3 separate regions of the Homo sapiens genome follow, and all the other regions are linked to region 2. Evidence: promoter capture Hi-C in 16 types of primary human blood cells and fetal thymus (Javierre and others, 2016). All regions are on one chromosome and are shown on one strand. Each heading gives the region's core, a stretch centred on a gene start or on the middle of the fragment in contact. The rest is flanking DNA. Distances are from core to core; before and after follow the strand shown.

Region 1 (2,733 bases), core at 128-2,627, 140 kb after region 2:
TAGCCGGGATGGTCTCGATCTCCTGACCTCATGATCCGCCCGCCTCGGCCTCCCAAAGTGCTGGGATTACAGGCGTGAGCCACCGCGCCCGGCCAAATCAACTTTTATGGAGCAATAAATTCCCCTTTTAGTTGACCATCTAAGGTCGATCTTGCTGGGTATGGTAGCACATGACTGTAATCCCAGTTACTTGGGAGCCTGAGACAGGAGAATCACTTGAACCCAAGAGGCAGAGGTTGCGGGAGCCAAGATCACACCACTGCGCTCCAGCCTGGGTGACAGAGCGAGACTCCATTTCAAACAAACAAACCAAAAAAAAACATTGGTGACCTCCGGGGAGCGGGGACCACCAGGTTGACCAAGGAGGGATGAACCTGGGAGGTGAACTGGCCCAGATCAGAAATAGAGCAGGTCAAAAACTCCTGTGCTGATCAGTAGTGGGATCTGCTTGTGATTAGCCACTGCACTGTAGCCTGGGCAACATAGTGAGACCTTGTCTATTAAAAAAAAATAAAAATAAAAAAAATAAAAAAAATAAAAAAAAAAATAAAGTCAATCATTTAAAAAAGAAAGAAACACAGTTGGGTGCGGTGGCTCACACCTGTAATCCCAGCACTTTAGGAGGCCGAGGCAGGCAGATCACGAGGTCAGAAGATTGAGACCATCCTGGCTAACACAGTGAAACCCTGTCTCTACTAAAAATACAAATATTAGCCGGGCATGGTGGCAGGCGCCTGTAATCCCAACTATTCTGGAAGCTGAGACAGGAGAATTGCTTGAACCTGGGAGGCAGAGGTTACAGTGAGCCGAGATTGTGCCACTGCACTCCAGCCTGGGTGACAGAGAGAGATTCCATCAGAAGGAAGGAAGGAAGGAAAGGGAGGGAGGGAGGGAGGGAGCGAGGGAGCCCAGGCACAGACAGTGGTTCATGCCTGTAATCCCAGCACTTTGGGAGGCCGGGGTGAGGTGAGAGGAGCACTTGAGCCCAGGAGTTCAAGGTTTCAAGGTTATAGCATGCCAACACTGCACTCCAGCCTGGGTGACAGAATAGGACTCTATCTCTTAAAAAAAAAAAAAAAAGAAAAAGAAAAGTCAGATAAAGAGTAACTGAGAAAATAAACACACAACAGGTTTTGAAGGAGTTTTATAATATGTAACTTTTCCATCAATGCACACCACCATTTTTTTTTTTTTTTTTTTTGAGATGGAATCTCACTCTGTCACCCAGGCTGGAATGCAGTGGCACGATCTTGGCTCACTGCGAACTCCGCCTCCCGAGTTCATGCCATTCTACTGCCTCAGCCTCCCGAGTAGCTGGGACTACAGGCACCCGCCACCACGCCCAGCTAATTTTTTGTACGAGGTTTCACCTTGTTAGCCAGGATAGTCTCAATCTCCTGACCTCGTGATCTGCCCGCCTCAGCCTCCCAAAGTGCTGGGATTACAGGCATGAGCCCCTGCACCCAGCCCCTCCCCCACTTTTTTTTTGAGACGGAGTCTTGCTCTGTCGCTCAGGCTGGAGTGCAGTGGCATGATCTTGGCTCACTGCAACCTCTGCCTCCCAGGTTCAAGCAATTCTCCTGCCTCAGCCTCCCGAGTAGCTGGGACTACAGGCGCGCCCCACCATGCCTGGCTAATTTTTGTATTTTTTTTTTAGGAGAGACGGGGCTTCACCATGTTGGCCAGGCTGGTCTTGAACTCCTGACCTTGTGATCCGCCCACCTCAGCCTCCCAAAGTGCTGGGATTACAGGCGTGAGCGACTGTGCCCAGCCACTTATTAGAATTTTTAAGCAAGGAGGAGCCGGGTGCGGTGGCTCATGCCTGTAATCCCAGCACTTTGAGAGGCAGAGCCGGGACGATTACCTGGGGTCAGGAGTTCGAGACCAGCCTGACCAATATGGTGAAACATGGTCTCTAAAGACAAAAAGTTAGCCAGGCGTGGTGGCACACGCCTGTAATCCCAGCTGCTTGGGAGGCTGAGGCAGGAGAATCAATTGAACCTGGGAGGCAGAGGTTGCAGTGAGCTGAGATTGTGCCATTGCACCCCAGCCTGGGCAAGAAAAGTGAAAACTCTGTCTCAAAAAAAGAAATAAATAATTTTTAAGTAAGGAGAATTACTATTTCAATTTCACATCTTGGCTATATTTTGACAAAGGAGATAATACTCCTGTAAGAGTATAGCAATATAGCAACAATCGCCTGTCCCAAGCCAGGAATCAATCAGTGTTCCTCTCCCCATCTCCACCCCAATCTCAAGAACCTTTTACTTCCCAACTAAACAACACAATTGGCAAATGAAGCCTGTGTGAAACCTGTATCAAAAACCAATAAGAGAGCCTGCAGCGAACCAATGTGTTACGCAGCTACTCTCGTAAATGATTACTTGGCCTCTCATAGACTTCTCAGCAGAAGATGGACCTTTATATCCTGGTGGAAAGACTAATTTAATATTTCTGAGCATTTATTTCTAATGCTATAATATTTCTAAACATTACATCATTATTTTCCGCCTTCCACTATCCTTTAAGGGCAATTAATTATTCTTGCTAAGGGGAATAAATGGCATAACAAAATTATAATTCCAAAAAGTGACAAAATCTAAAACAACAAAGTGGTTTTGCATATGCAGTCTTGGTTGAGATTGTAGTGGGTTGATTGGCCACATGATCAGAAATTTATTTCTGGAAAATTTTCACAGAAAAATGGGTAGGAATGGTGGTGGGGTCCATGTG
Region 2 (2,700 bases), core at 1-2,500:
TGAAAAAGAAGGTTGGATAGATTAGTGGTTAAACACCAATTTTAATATTGGAGAAACCTGAGTTCCAATCTCCACTCCATACTTTATAACTGTGTGACTTTGTCCAAAGTCCTGACGATTAAATGAAATGATGTGCCTGATATATAAAAGAGCATCACTGAATGCTCCCAATTATCGGTATTTTTACTTTAACCTTTTTCTTTTTTAGCTCCTTACTGCAGTGCACTGAGATATTTTTACTTTAAACTTCAACTTAACCATGCAGATCTCTTGTACATCTCTAACTCATTCAACATCTAACAGAAAAACTGCTCAATAAGTGATGATGTCCGTTTAACGTGCAGTGCCCTTATATAACGGTGTAGGGCCGTGCTATTTTTCTTCAGATTGCAATTTAACTGCGGGAAAGTGTAATGATTCTATTAGGATTTCAATTGTAAAATGAAAAGTAACGTCTCAACATCTTTTTAATTAAAAAGCTCTACCAAAAGAGCCTGGCTTATCAACATTTTACAGCCAAGCATGGCTCCAAGGTGACCGATCAGTTAGCTGGCAGGACACATTGGTGCCTCCAGGCTGGGATGACATCAAAGGTTCTAGCTACAGTGGTTCTGGGACGCGATCTCTTCCTCTTCATACCTCACAGGGCACTTTACCACTGTCGTTACACATCTTCACAGTTCTCCTTTTCCAACCAGAGGGCTTCGTAAGCTGGGAATCAGGTAGGTTAGTATCAGGCGTCCCTTGCACAAAAGGCCTATAACTGCGGGGCAGACTAACGAAAGGTCCTCCCAGAGTGAGCCTCTCACCTCAAGTCTTAAAGGACTTTGGCCTGCGCCTCCAGCCTCTGGCCAGTTGGCTGCGCTCCACCAGTAAGGGTTCTCGAGCCCCCGGGCAGCCTGCGGGGGGCAGCGAGGCGCAAAGACCATGCCCCAAGTGCCGAGGGAAAGTCCTGAGATGCGCGACTTGGGACGCTAGGGGCCAAGCTCCGACGCGGGGCTGGGTGCACCTGGACGCACCTCACACGCCGCGAGCTAAGCAGAAAAGGGAGGCAGGCTGCCCCGACACCCCACTACTCACCGCTAGGTTTCCGTCTGGCGCCGATCCGGCTGCGTCACGCCGGCCGAACGACACCCCGCTGAGTCGCCGCCGCAGGGAAGGTACCTTCGGCCCCAACGGGAAAAGCCAATTTCCAGTAATTCGCGCCCGACCACCGGGGAGGTAAGGAGCACCGGAGGCCAGCTGGGGGATGGGAAGCCTGCGTGCGGCACACCGAATCTCCCGCCCTGTTCAGGGGGCGGTGCCCGAGGAAGCCAATAGGAAGAGGAGTCGGCCAAGAGCGACGGCTCTGCCGTCCAGTCGGCGCCGGCCATTCGGCCCCGCCCATCAGGAAACCTGAGGAAAACGGATTCTTGGGCCCTGAGTTGTGGGCCTTACCTTTCCTTTCTTCTTTCCGTTTCCGGGGAAGGGAAAAGGAAGTGTTGTTTGGATCTGAGGAAGTTTGCACAGTAGCTGGCTGAGTGGTAGCTGTTTGTCTTGTAGCAATCTTTAAAAAGTGTTCTTTGGGGTCGGGCGCAGTGTCTCACGCCTCTAATCCCAGCACCTTGGGAGGCCGAGGCGGGCGAATCACCTGAGGTCGGGAGCTCGAGACCAGTCTGACCGACATGGAGAAACCCCGTCTCTCCTAAAAATACAAAATTAGCCGGGCGTGGTGGCGCATGCCTGTAATACTAGCTACTCGGGAGGCTGAGGCAGGAGAAACGCTTGAACCCGGGAGGCGGACGTTGCAGTGAGCCGAGATCGAGCCATTGCATTCCAGCCTGGGCAACAAGAGCGAAACTCCGTCTCAAAAAAAAAAAAAAAAAAAAAAAAAAGTGTTCATTGGTTTCCCAGCTACCTTTTGAAGAAAAAGGTAATGGAAATTGATTCGCATTTCTTTTTTAAAGATTTTCTTCATTTGGCGTGAAAGGTAGGATCTTGTACATCTCCAGGGTTTGGGGTAGGGAGAAGAAGAGACGTTAGGAGAAGCACTGAATATGGAGATGGGATCGGACGGCTAGTGGGATGAAGAGGCTGGGGAAATAGAATGAATAGACAGAGAAAATGATTGACTTCAACTATCCAAAATATAAAAAAGACAAGACAGAGAAAATGAGGAAGAAAAGGAATGAACCTGGATGGGATCCATACAGTATTAAGAACAGGGTATTGTTTCATTTGGATTCACTTACTCAAAACAAAACTACAGAGTACTCTGCGAACAGAAGATAAGTATTCATTATCGAGCGAGACAACTACGATCTCTGCATTCACTGTAGTTACCTAGCACGTGAAGATATTGAACGGACAATATTGAGAAAAATACCATGATATGGGAAGTGCATTGGAGCACATGGTAGGAGTAGCTAATTAAAAGCCCAGAAGGAGTCAGGAACAATTTTCTAGGAGGAAGAGATGTTTAAACTGAAACCCCTGTGTTGAATAGATTTAAAACAGGCCAAGAGGGGTAAAATTTTCCAGGTAGAAGGTCCAAATCCGTGTAACAGCTGTGTAAAATGCCAAGCATTGGGTCTGTTATTATGAAGGGCTTAGTTGGCCCTTAGGGCACTGGTCAGATTTGTATTGAAAGATCTTTGGATAAAGGAGGTAGGATTGGGAGGGAAGATATAGAGTCACAAGATTTGGGAGCTGTTTAGGAAA
Region 3 (2,700 bases), core at 89-2,588, 240 kb after region 2:
GTCTGGGGAATATGGACTTGCTCAGCCTGAGGACTGACCCTTAGCAGTAGTTAATAACTAACTCATGCCCCAGAGACAAGGACAGAGTTTGGTGGGTTCTACTACAAACTTCCTGTGAGTGGAAAAAGAAAACTGTTTGATGTTACATTTTCCTGTTAGTGCCATGTGACAAATAATGCATTGCTGACTTTCTCTCTGTGATAGAGTCTTTTCCAGAGGAATCAGGGAGTTGGCAGGAACACTTCAAAGCAGTGTGATCCTCAGTCGATGCCCAACTGGAACTTTCTTTTTCCCCTCTTTTTTCTTTTCTTTTCTTTTCTTTTTTTTTTTTTTGAGACAGGGCCTCACTCTGTTGCCTAGGCTGGAGTGCAGTGGTGTAATCACAGCTCACTGCAGCCTTGACCCCTCGGACTCAGGTGATCCTCCCACCTCAACGTCCCAGGAAGCTGGGACTACAGGCAATGTGTCACCATGCCCAGCTAATTTTTTGTATTTTTTTTTTCTAGAGATGGGGTCTCACTAAGTTGTCCAGGCTGGTCTTGAACTCCTGGGCTCAAGCGATCAGCCCGTCTTGGCCTCCCAAAGTGCTGGGATTACAGGCATGAGCCACCACGCCCAGCCTCCCTCTTTTTCCTTCTCTAGGGAAGAGGTCCACCTAGCCTCTTTATATCCAGTGACATAAATGCTGACTCAATCCAACCATACTTGAGCTGGAAGCCTTGAGCTGATCCATGGGATCTTAATTAATTCCCCACCCAATCCCTGCCAGCAGCATAGTTTCCAACCCAGACAAAGCAAAAAAGAATGCGAAGACACATCAGTCTCTCCCATCAGGAAGGGCATGGTGGCTGAATTTGTCTCAGGAGGGCCTTGAGAGAAGCATAATTCTCCAGAATTAGATGCGAAAATTATCAGTGAAGAAATCTAAGTGCTTGGGGAAGATATTTGGAGTCTGAGTACCTCTCTTTCTAGGTAACAGAGCCACAAATGGTGCACCAAGCCTGGTCTCCAGGGGGATGCAAGGAGCATCTGCTAACACTCTAAACTCTGAAACCAGCACAAAGGTCTGGATGGTTTCTTTTATTCCTTTTTTAATAAAAAAATTTTTTTTCCAAATTTAATCAAAAGGACGGTTTCTTTAGGGGCTCTCTCCCTAGGGTCCAGCCTTCGATGATTTTAAGGGCTCCGAGCTGTTTGTTTCAGACTTGTTTCTCCCTCTCTCTGTAATTATCTCTGTTCTTCCCACCTTTTTCTGTATCAATCAGAAGTGACTGATCCCTTTGACTGTGGAGGAAATGCTGTTACACTTTGAGTCATGCATACCCTTTGGGTTATTTCTGGAGAGGGGTAGTTTCTTTTCTTATCCATTGAAGCCACTTGTTTTCTGCTTGGATAAAGATGTACCACGATTTCAAGGATGATTTTAGCTGCCCAGAGGCTCTGCTAAAGCCAGCTCAGCTAATTTGCAATCACATGCTGTTTACAATAGCCTTAAAAAATAATTGCACATGTTTTTAAATTCCTACTGTGAATATATATATATATTGAATTTTAAAAATTGAATATACAGCCATCTTTATATACATATGAATATATATCAGCCATCTTTATATATATATGAATATATATGTGTATATATATACTTTATTTATAAGTATACTTTATATATATATACTTATATATTAAGTGTATATATATATATACACACACTCATATATATATTCACATATATATAAAGATGGCGGTCTCACTGTGTTGCCCAGGCTTGTCCTGAACTCTCAGGCTCAAGGAATTCTCCTGCCTCAGCCACCCAAGTACCACCATGCCAGCTTGTATATTATTTTTATATTCAGAAATAAAATTACAAAAGATTTCCCTTTTTTGAAGGCATTAGATCACTCCAGAAATGAACCATCTGAAAAAAATCTTTGATATTTATGTTGTCTCATGAAATCCTTGTGTATGCTTTCTTCATTCATGTTGCTAATATGAAAGTGAAGATGCTTTTGCATAAACCCTGGGTTTGACAATATTAAAATATATATTCCATTTTCTTAACTGTCATGATTGAGCTTCTCCAGCCAAACCAGGTGAAGTCTGAATTTTAATCAGGATCTGGCATTTCACCTTGGAATTAATTAGCTAATTCCACACTAGGGCCAGGATCTTGAGAACTCTCTGCCTCTGATACTGGGAGTGGCATCCTGAAAGAAAGGAACTGTCTAATCTTTAGTGCAAATGAGATTTATCCTTTGTCCTGGGCTCTAGGACTTAAAAAAGAATCTTTGAAATTTTATTCAGATCACAATTGTGCAGTAAAAGTGAGTTGCAGAGTAGTCAGAATCCCCAGTTTTTCAATATGTGACTTCAGAAATAATGTGGCATAAATACCCCAAGGGGTTTAGACTAGAGTATAAAAACATGGTTTTGGACAGGCATGGTGGCTCATGCCTGTAATCCTAGCACTTTGGGAGGCTGAGGTGGGCGAATCACTTGAGGTCAGGAGTTCAAGACCAGCCTGGCCAACATGGTGAAACTCTACCTCAACCAAAAATACAAAAATTATCGGCTGGGCGCGGTGGCTCATGCCTGTAATCCCAGCACTTTGGGAGGACGAGGTGGGCGGATCACAAGGTCAAGAGATCAAGACCATCCTGGCCAACATAGTGAAACCCCGTCTCTACTAAAAATACAAAAATT

Evidence for each region. Contacts are between HindIII fragments. The CHiCAGO score rates a contact against its expected background, and 5 or more counts as called.
Region 1: a contact is called between a fragment that was not itself captured here and the fragment with the promoter of ORC2 in region 2, in 5 of 17 cell types (neutrophils, erythroblasts, megakaryocytes and 2 more). The highest score is 9.2, in neutrophils.
Region 3: a contact is called between a fragment that was not itself captured here and the fragment with the promoter of ORC2 in region 2, in 5 of 17 cell types (neutrophils, monocytes, M1 macrophages and 2 more). The highest score is 12.9, in neutrophils.

Annotation. Positions count from the first base shown.
Region 1 is chr2:201,097,591-201,100,323 of GRCh38, forward strand. No RefSeq gene overlaps it. Among named protein-coding and RNA genes, the nearest start is that of CFLAR, 17 kb to the right of the region's middle. The HindIII fragment of the contact is 8,067 bases long and covers 1-2,733 here.
Region 2 is chr2:200,962,410-200,965,109 of GRCh38, forward strand. ORC2 (origin recognition complex subunit 2) reads right to left here and starts at 1,251. Exons shown (of 18, transcript NM_006190.5): 1 at 1,081-1,251. LOC105373835 (a long non-coding RNA gene) reads left to right here and starts at 1,023. Exons shown (of 3, transcript NR_187976.1): 1 at 1,023-1,221. RefSeq lists an enhancer at 484-553 and a silencer at 1,262-1,660. The HindIII fragment of the contact is 10,169 bases long and covers 1-2,700 here.
Region 3 is chr2:201,204,910-201,207,609 of GRCh38, forward strand. CASP10 (caspase 10) reads left to right here. Exons shown (of 10, transcript NM_032977.4): 7 at 973-1,064. Among named protein-coding and RNA genes, the nearest start is that of CASP10, 23 kb to the left of the region's middle. The HindIII fragment of the contact is 4,768 bases long and covers 1-2,700 here.